2 separate regions of the Homo sapiens genome follow, and region 1 is linked to region 2. Evidence: promoter capture Hi-C in human tissues and cell types (Jung and others, 2019). All regions are on one chromosome and are shown on one strand. The core of a region is centred on a gene start or on the middle of the fragment in contact, and the rest is flanking DNA. Distances in the headings are between cores, read along the strand shown. Region 1 overlaps SLAMF7 (SLAM family member 7). Region 2 holds the start of USP21 (ubiquitin specific peptidase 21).

Region 1 (4,560 bases), core at 812-3,311, 400 kb before region 2:
TGGGCAAGAATGGGATTGAGGATTATCTTCTCTCAGAAAGGCATTGTGAAGGAATTGAGCCAGATCTCTCTCCCTACTGCAAAACCCTATTGTAGTAAAAAAGTCTTCTTTACTATCTTAATAAAACAGATATTGTGAGATTCACATACAAAAAGATGCATTATTTTGCTATTTGCAATAGTGAAATTCTGGAAACTGCCAAAGAAACTGACCACCACAGGTGAAGGTCTGTTCATACATAGACATTAAGAATTATGGGTTAGGCCGGGAGCAGTGGCTCACGCCTGTAATCCCAGCACTTTGGGAGGCCGAGGCAGGTGGATTACTTGAGGTCAGGAGTTCAAGAACAGCCTGGCCAACATGATGAAACCCCGTCTCTACTAAAAATACAAAAAATATTAGCCGGGCATGGTGGTGAGCCCCTGTAATCCCAGCTTCTTGGGAGGCAGAGGGAGGAGAATTGCTTGAACCCAGGACGGGGAGGTTGCAGTGAGCCAAGATCGCGCCACTGCACTCCAGCCTAGGCGACAGAGCAAGACTCCATCTCAAAAAAAGAATTATGGGTTATACTCAGCATCATGAAATATACCTGTGTAACCTACACATGTAGCTTCTGAATCAAAAATAAAATTAAAAATAACAAATTTTTAGCATGTGCCTGTGGTCCCAGCTACTTGGGAGGCTGAGGCAGGAGGATCTCTTGAACCCGGGAGGTGGAGGTTGCAGTGAGCCGAGATCGCACCACTGCACTCCAGCCTGGATGATAGAGTGAGATTCTGTCTCAAAAAAAAAAAAAAATTGTTTAAAAAAAACTATGGGTTGGCCAGGAGTGGTGGCTCATGTCGGTAATCCCAGCACTTTGGGAGGCTGAAGTAGGAGGATCACTTGACCTCAGGAGTTCAAGACCACCCTAGGCAACTTAGCAAAGCCCCATCTCTACAAAAAAATACAAAAATTAGCCAGGCATGGTGGTGCATGCCTGTAGTCCCAGCTACTCAGGAAGGAGCTGAAGAGGGAGGGTCGCTTGAGCCTGGTAGGTTGAGGCTGCAGTGAGCTATAATTGTGCTACTGCACTCCAGCCTGGGCAACAGAGTGAGACTCTGACTCACAAAACAACAACAACACAACAACTATGGGTTTTCAAGTTAGAAAATGTTATGACATCACAAATATAAAAAGTAGAATGCAAATTTAATGTGCTATATGATTACAGCTGTGTTTTAGAAAAAATCTCTACAGGGAAAAATTTGGAAGAAAAAACATCAAAATAGTAACACCAGTTGTTTAGGGAGGGTGAAAGCTTAGGTGGCTTGGTTTTTTCCTATTTTCATTCATTTTCTGAATATTCCTCAATGAGAAAGTATGTATTGCATAATAGAGTAGAGGAAATTTTAAATAGGTGCTCAGTGAGAAAAACGAGGCACTACTCACTACGTGGGGTTGAGGGGAAAGTCTGAGACCCTCATGGTAAGGGTGTGGGGGAGGATGGAAAGACCTCCTCGAGTGAGAATGGGTGGGGAGAAAGGAGAAACCCTCCACATAATGACAGAGGAGAAGATGACTTTCCCTCAGAGAGGGCTGCTGGAGGCTGAGGGGAGCTTCACAGTGTGTGAAGACAGAGGCGTGGAGAGGGGGATGCTGGGACTGAGGATGCATCTGTTCTGCCTTCCCCTCTCTCCTCAGAACCCATTCAGATGATAAATAATTAGGGTTAATCATACTTTGGGGTTTTTTAAACCAGTGACTGAAACAGGACCTAGGGAGACCAATAGATCTGGTCTCTGGACACTCAATAAATTCTGTCCCAAAGCTAGTTGCAGAAAGAAGCTTCCCCTCATGAGTTCAACCAGTAGGCAAAGGAAACCACCAGCTCTTCAGGGTGAGAAGTCACACCACCTCATAGCCCCATTACATGCAGCCTCCAGAACTGTGTGGTTTGCAACTTGTGAGGTGCAAATAACAAATTCGTAAACATTGAAACCTTGGTGGAAAGTAAAGAAGGTATCTGTACCATTTCAGTAAGGCTTTCACTCATTCATTTGATCATGTATGCATTCATTCATTTATTCATTCAGCAGTACTTATTGAGCACCAGTAAGTGCTGGACATTATGCTGAACTCAGGGAATACAGCAGTGGGCCACAACAGAGGTCTCTGCCCTCAGGGTGCTTACATTCTAATGACAGAGGCCAACACTCAAATATCCTTTAAATAACATGGTTGCAGTGATGACTGCTATGAAAGAGAGGTGTGTGGAGCCAAGAATGGCAAATTTTCCTGTGGTCAGAGACAGTATCTCCAAAGTGATGAAGACTGAGCTGAGATCGGAAGATGAGTAGGAGCTACTTACAAGAAGTGGGAAGGGAAAATAAAACCCTTCTAGCCAGAGGTGCAAAGGCCTTGTGGTGAGAGGACCTAAAAGAACGAAAGTCAGTGTGGCCAGCAGAGAGAGTTGCACTTTTAAAATTTCATTAGTTGCAGTATGGGAAACAGATTGTAGGGGGTCAAGACTGGATGTAGGCAAACTGAGTCAGAAGGCTCTTACCGTTATCCAGGAGAGAGGTGATGGTAGGTTGGACAAGCATAGTAGGATGCAGAGAGAGGGAAGGATGCTCTCAAGAGGTATCTAAGGGATAAGGAGGTTCCTGCTTTCAGTACTGTCTTGGGAATGTGTGCTGATCTGGAAAAGGAGGTGGGAAGATGGGCCTTTGCTTTTGATAGCCTCTTGGGACTAGAAGGACAAAGTTTGGAGTCTGGGGCTACCAAGGTTAGAGAACTGGTAAATCCCTCATCTTTTTGACTTGGGACCCCAAAAGACTTACCCTAGGAGACTTATCCTTCTTGTAAACAAGAAGTACACCAGTTTTAATTCATCTATGGGGCCAAGAAAATCTCAAAACTGGTATTAGATTAAAGAGATCCAAGCTTACGAGTGCCCACAAGTACCTTACAGAAGCAAACAAAGACCATCACTAAAAGAAAATAACATTCTTAGGCCTCACAATTTTCCTACAAATAATTTTTCATAAGCAATGTTCATCATATGTTCAGAGATATCCAGGCCCATGAGGAGGATCCAGGCCCATGGGGATCATCCTCCTCCATGAGGAGACCCATGAGCAAGACCCTCCTGGTGGGGACAGCCTATCACAGACTGCAGCCCAGGATGCAGCCCGGCCCACCTCCCTCTCATTTCATCCCAAGAAGATGGAAGGAGGAACTTCCAGCCTCCTCAGTTCATGTACTTGTAGACAGACTTTAAAGATGTTTGGAGTTCTGACTATAGTCCTAAGCATACTCTTTATTGCAATCTGTCAAGAACATAGCCAGCAACAGGGAAGAGTTGATAAACCATAACATGATCATTTATAATATTTAATGTTTAGTACAGTCACAATTGCCAATCATTGTTCTAAATAATACATATATATATGTGTGCATGTATATACATATGTACATTTATTTAATCTTCATAACAAACATAACCATTTTATAGATGAGGTAGTTGAGACCAAGATTGTCTTTTGTCTAATTGGGTTTTGTGGGTTGTTTTGTTTTGTTTTGTTTTGTTTTGTTTTGTTCGGCTCATATGTATTACTGCTCTAGGCAGTATTAATTAATTGATTAATTTATTTAAAATTTATTATTTTAAAATAAATGCTGGTACTGCTTGTCTTTACTAATTATAAAAGTTATTTTTTCCTGCAATTAAAACTTATTATGCGTCTACAATGTGCTCCCCATACTTCTAAGAGCTCACAATCAAGTGGGAGACAGGGATATCAACAGACATTACAAGTTAAAATGGTAGGTAAGAAAATAAAGGCATATAAGACATATAGGGGGTTGTATTACTCATGGTTTTCCTGAGAAATAGAACCAATAGATTATTTGTAAATATATATAAAAGGAGACTTATTATAGGAATTGGCTCACGCATTAGGAAGGCCAAGAGGTCTCATGATCTTCTGTCTGCGGCTGGAGAACCAAGAAAGCCTGAGGAGTAATTCAGTTCATGACTTGGAAGGCCTGAGAATTGGGGAGCCAAAGGTGTAACTCTCAATATGACCCAGAAAGCCAGAGAAATGAGACTACCAGTGCCCAAGGGCAGAAGAAAAATGCATGTCTCAGCTCAAGCAGAGAGACCAAATTTGCTCTTTCTCTGTTTTTGTTTTTTTGGGGGTTTTTTTTGTTTGTTTGTTTGTTTGTTTTACCTTTTTGTTTTGTTTTGTTTGACATGGAGTTGTATGTTGCCCAGGCTGGCCTCAAACTCCTGAGCTCAGGTGATCCTCCTGCCTCAGCCTCCCAAGTGGCTGGGATTACAAGTGTGCACCACTGCATCTGGCCTTCCTCTGCCTTTTTTGTTCTATTTAGGCCCTCAACTGATTGGGTGGTGCTCACCCACATTGGTAAGGGTGATCTTTACTCAGTCTACTGATTCAAAAATAAATCTCTTCTGGAAACATCATCATAGACACACCCAGAAATAATATTTTACCAATTATCTGAGCATCCCTTAACCCAGTCAAGTTGACACATGAAATTCATCATCACGAGTCC
Region 2 (3,242 bases), core at 322-2,821:
TGGAGGCAGAGATTTTCCCAGGGTCTGCTGGCCTAGTGGGGTGCCAGGCCCTCCTTTGCTGAGCCTAAGCAAAGTACTTAGCTGAACTTGTTCTCAATTCTGATCACTAGTAGTCTTCCTATGCCCCCAAGAGGCTGCTGTGCTTTATGGTAAACTTTGCATGTCAACACCTTCTTCATGTCCCTCTCATAGGGGTGGCAAAATATGCCTGACGGATCATTTCAAACCTTTGTGGGCCAGGAATGTGCCCAAATTTGGACTAGCTCATCTCATGGCTCTGGGGGTAAGTTTTGTGTATTTGGCATAAAAGGAGAAAGAGGGACTTAGGCCCTGAGCAGTACAAGAAAAGCAGCTAAGAATAAAAGGAATAACAGTGATGTCCCTTAAGCATGTTCCCCCAGAATCTGTCTCCAGGAAGGAGCTTCTAATGGAACAAGAAGCATTGACTGGTAGTAATCTCACAGGATTTTCCTTGTATTGCAGCTGGGTCCATGGCTGGCAGTGGAAATCCCTGATCTGATTCAGAAGGGCGTCATCCAACACAAAGAGAAATGCAACCAATGAAGAATCAAGCCACTGAGGCAGGGCAGAGGGACCTTTGATAGGCTACGATACTATTTTCCTGTGCATCACACTTAACTCATCTAACTGCTTCCCCGGACACCCTCCACCTCTAGTTGTTACTAAGTAGCTGCAGTAGGCATTGCTGGGGAAGAAACAAACACACACCAAACAGTACTGCTACTTAGTTTCTAAGGCTGCACAGGGAAGGGAAAGACTGGGCTTTGGACAATCTAGAGGTAATTTATATCCGCCCCCAGGTGGAGCAACATGCGATTCTGGAGGCACGGGGGTAACTGAAAGTGAGTACATATAGTCTTTCTGGTTTCTGGAGATAACCCATCAATAAAAGCTGCTTCCTCTGGTAGCCTGTGGTTCTCATTGGGAGCTGTTAACAGAGGGCAAGTGGGCTGAAACCTGAGGCACATGAACAGCTACGCCGGGTTGGGTTGGGAAAGAGTCGGAAATAGGGGATGCTCTGGTCAGGAGTGGGAATGAAATGTTGACTGTTCCCCCTGCTGCTCAGATCTACCTTTGTCCTTTAGTGGTGAGCCATGCTTTGCCCTACCGTGTTAGCCTGCAAGAAGTGGTTTTGCCGGACCAGCACTTCCCGCCCTCCAGGGATCTTCCCAGCCCTCTGTGAAGTGCTAGATGCTTCTCCACTGGTCTGCGGGCTGGACCCAGGCCTGCAGTTTGCCATACTTGCGCCCCTGCTGTTTGGGAAGGATCTGTGCTGTAAGCCTCGCGGCCATACTACGACTGTCAGATCTCCATCCCTATGGGCTATAGGATGGGGCGACGGCACCCTATACCTCAGGGACTTGCTTTGGAGTCATGGATTAAAGACCTCTCTGGGCAGCGTTGAGAACCAGCGACCCTAAACTTGGCTGCGTTTCCATGGTGTCGATCGCGGAGCCGTGGGGGCGGGCTCACGCAAGCGCCAAGGGACCGGTGGGAGGAGTTCGGGTGTGGATGCGCAGGCGCTTTGAGAGACGGTGAAGCCGGTGGCCGGTGGCCGGGCGGGACCAACAAAGATGGCGGCGGCCCCTGCGGCGGGAGCGATCTGGGCAACGGCTGCGGCTAAAGCTGCAGCCGGGCCCACGGGGGGGCTGCACGGGGGTAGTAGGGGGTGGCCCTGAACTGGGGCCTGGCCCTGGCTGGCCTCTCCCGCCGCCTCACTGGGGGACAGGTACGGGCCGGGGCGTTATGGCATGGCGGGGTGTGGGGGGGCGCAGAGGGAAGACTGCTCCAGACCCGAGAGGACACTCTCCACAAAGGCGCGTGGGGCCCGGCGGGGCCTGGGAGAACTGGGCTGGAGGGACAGCATCCCTGGACCGCGGGGAATACGCCGCCGGATTCCGTAGCCAATCAGCGGTCTCGGCCTTTCTGCCCTCGAGGGGGGCGGACCCGGCTAAAGCCCTGCTGTGGTGGGAGAAGTGCAGAGATTAAGGGTCAAGGAGTTGTTCGTCCTCCATCCCCGACTACTGCTTTCTGAACCTCGACACCATGTCGGAGGTCGGAGGTGGGGGAGGGAATGGATCGTAAGTCACCCATATAGTCTGCTTCATTTGCAGCCCAGAGAGGCAGGGATTCGAGGATGGAGGGCTGTCTTTTGGGCTGTTATTCTTGCATCTACACTACCATTTGGCTAGGGTCTTAAGTGACCCGAGGCACATCCTACTTTACTAGCCGGGTATGGGGTCCCATGTTACGTTAGAGCCGAGATAGGAGTTATCACTGGCTTTTCAGTAAAGATGTGTTCTGCAGGGAGGGGTCGGGAGTATAGAAAGGGTCAAAGCCATGGGCTGCTTATCTTTCATTCATTTGTTTACCCAATAGATACTAAGTATTTACTTTGTACCAAACACGATGCCAGGTACTGGGGATACGATGGCTGATTCGATAGATCTGGTTCCTGCCCTCAGTGCGTATACTGCTCCCCACTTTCGTTGATGTGGTAGTGGTGATGACTGAGCCAACCACCTAATGTGGAAATGAGAGGACAGCAAGATTGTGGGTATGGAATGGGGCAAAGCAATAAGGGAAAATTAGTGTGGCAGGGTTCAGTACAGCAGCCTGGGTTCCCATTTCCCCCCATATTCAAATGCTGACACTCTCTTCTCCTCCCAGGTCCAGCCTGTGGTGTCCACAATGCCCCAGGCCTCTGAGCACCGCCTGGGCCGTACCCGAGAGCCACCTGTTAATATCCAGCCCCGAGTGGGATCCAAGCTACCATTTGCCCCCAGGGCCCGCAGCAAGGAGCGCAGAAACCCAGCCTCTGGGCCAAACCCCATGTTACGACCTCTGCCTCCCCGGCCAGGTCTGCCTGATGAACGGCTCAAGAAACTGGAGCTGGGACGGGGACGGACCTCAGGCCCTCGTCCCAGAGGCCCCCTTCGAGCAGATCATGGGGTTCCCCTGCCTGGCTCACCACCCCCAACAGTGGCTTTGCCTCTCCCATCTCGGACCAACTTAGCCCGTTCCAAGTCTGTGAGCAGTGGGGACTTGCGTCCAATGGGGATTGCCTTGGGAGGGCACCGTGGCACCGGAGAGCTTGGGGCTGCACTGAGCCGCTTGGCCCTCCGGCCTGAGCCACCCACTTTGAGACGTAGCACTTCTCTCCGCCGCCTAGGGGGCTTTCCTGGACCCCCTACCCTGTTCAGCATACGGACAGAGCCCCC

The links. The method cuts DNA at HindIII sites, captures the fragments that hold promoters and counts their contacts. A contact is called where the count stands out against the background at its distance.
Region 1: a contact is called between a fragment that was not itself captured here and the fragment with the promoter of USP21 in region 2, in 1 of the 25 tissues and cell types used here (mesendoderm cells).

What each region holds. Positions count from the first base shown.
Region 1 is chr1:160,754,668-160,759,227 of GRCh38, forward strand. It overlaps SLAMF7 (SLAM family member 7), which reads left to right. Exons shown (of 7, transcript NM_021181.5): 7 at 1-154. Among named protein-coding and RNA genes, the nearest start is that of SLAMF7, 18 kb to the left of the region's middle. RefSeq lists an enhancer at 825-874 and a silencer at 2,425-2,494. The HindIII fragment of the contact is 5,235 bases long and covers 1-4,560 here.
Region 2 is chr1:161,157,929-161,161,170 of GRCh38, forward strand. USP21 (ubiquitin specific peptidase 21) reads left to right here and starts at 1,572. Exons shown (of 14, transcript NM_001014443.3): 1 at 1,572-1,750; 2 at 2,438-2,578; 3 at 2,692-3,242. The coding sequence starts at 2,713. It overlaps UFC1 (ubiquitin-fold modifier conjugating enzyme 1), which reads left to right. Exons shown (of 6, transcript NM_016406.4): 5 at 193-283; 6 at 484-928. The coding sequence ends at 564. RefSeq lists a silencer at 1,651-1,800. The HindIII fragment of the contact is 22,288 bases long and covers 19-3,242 here.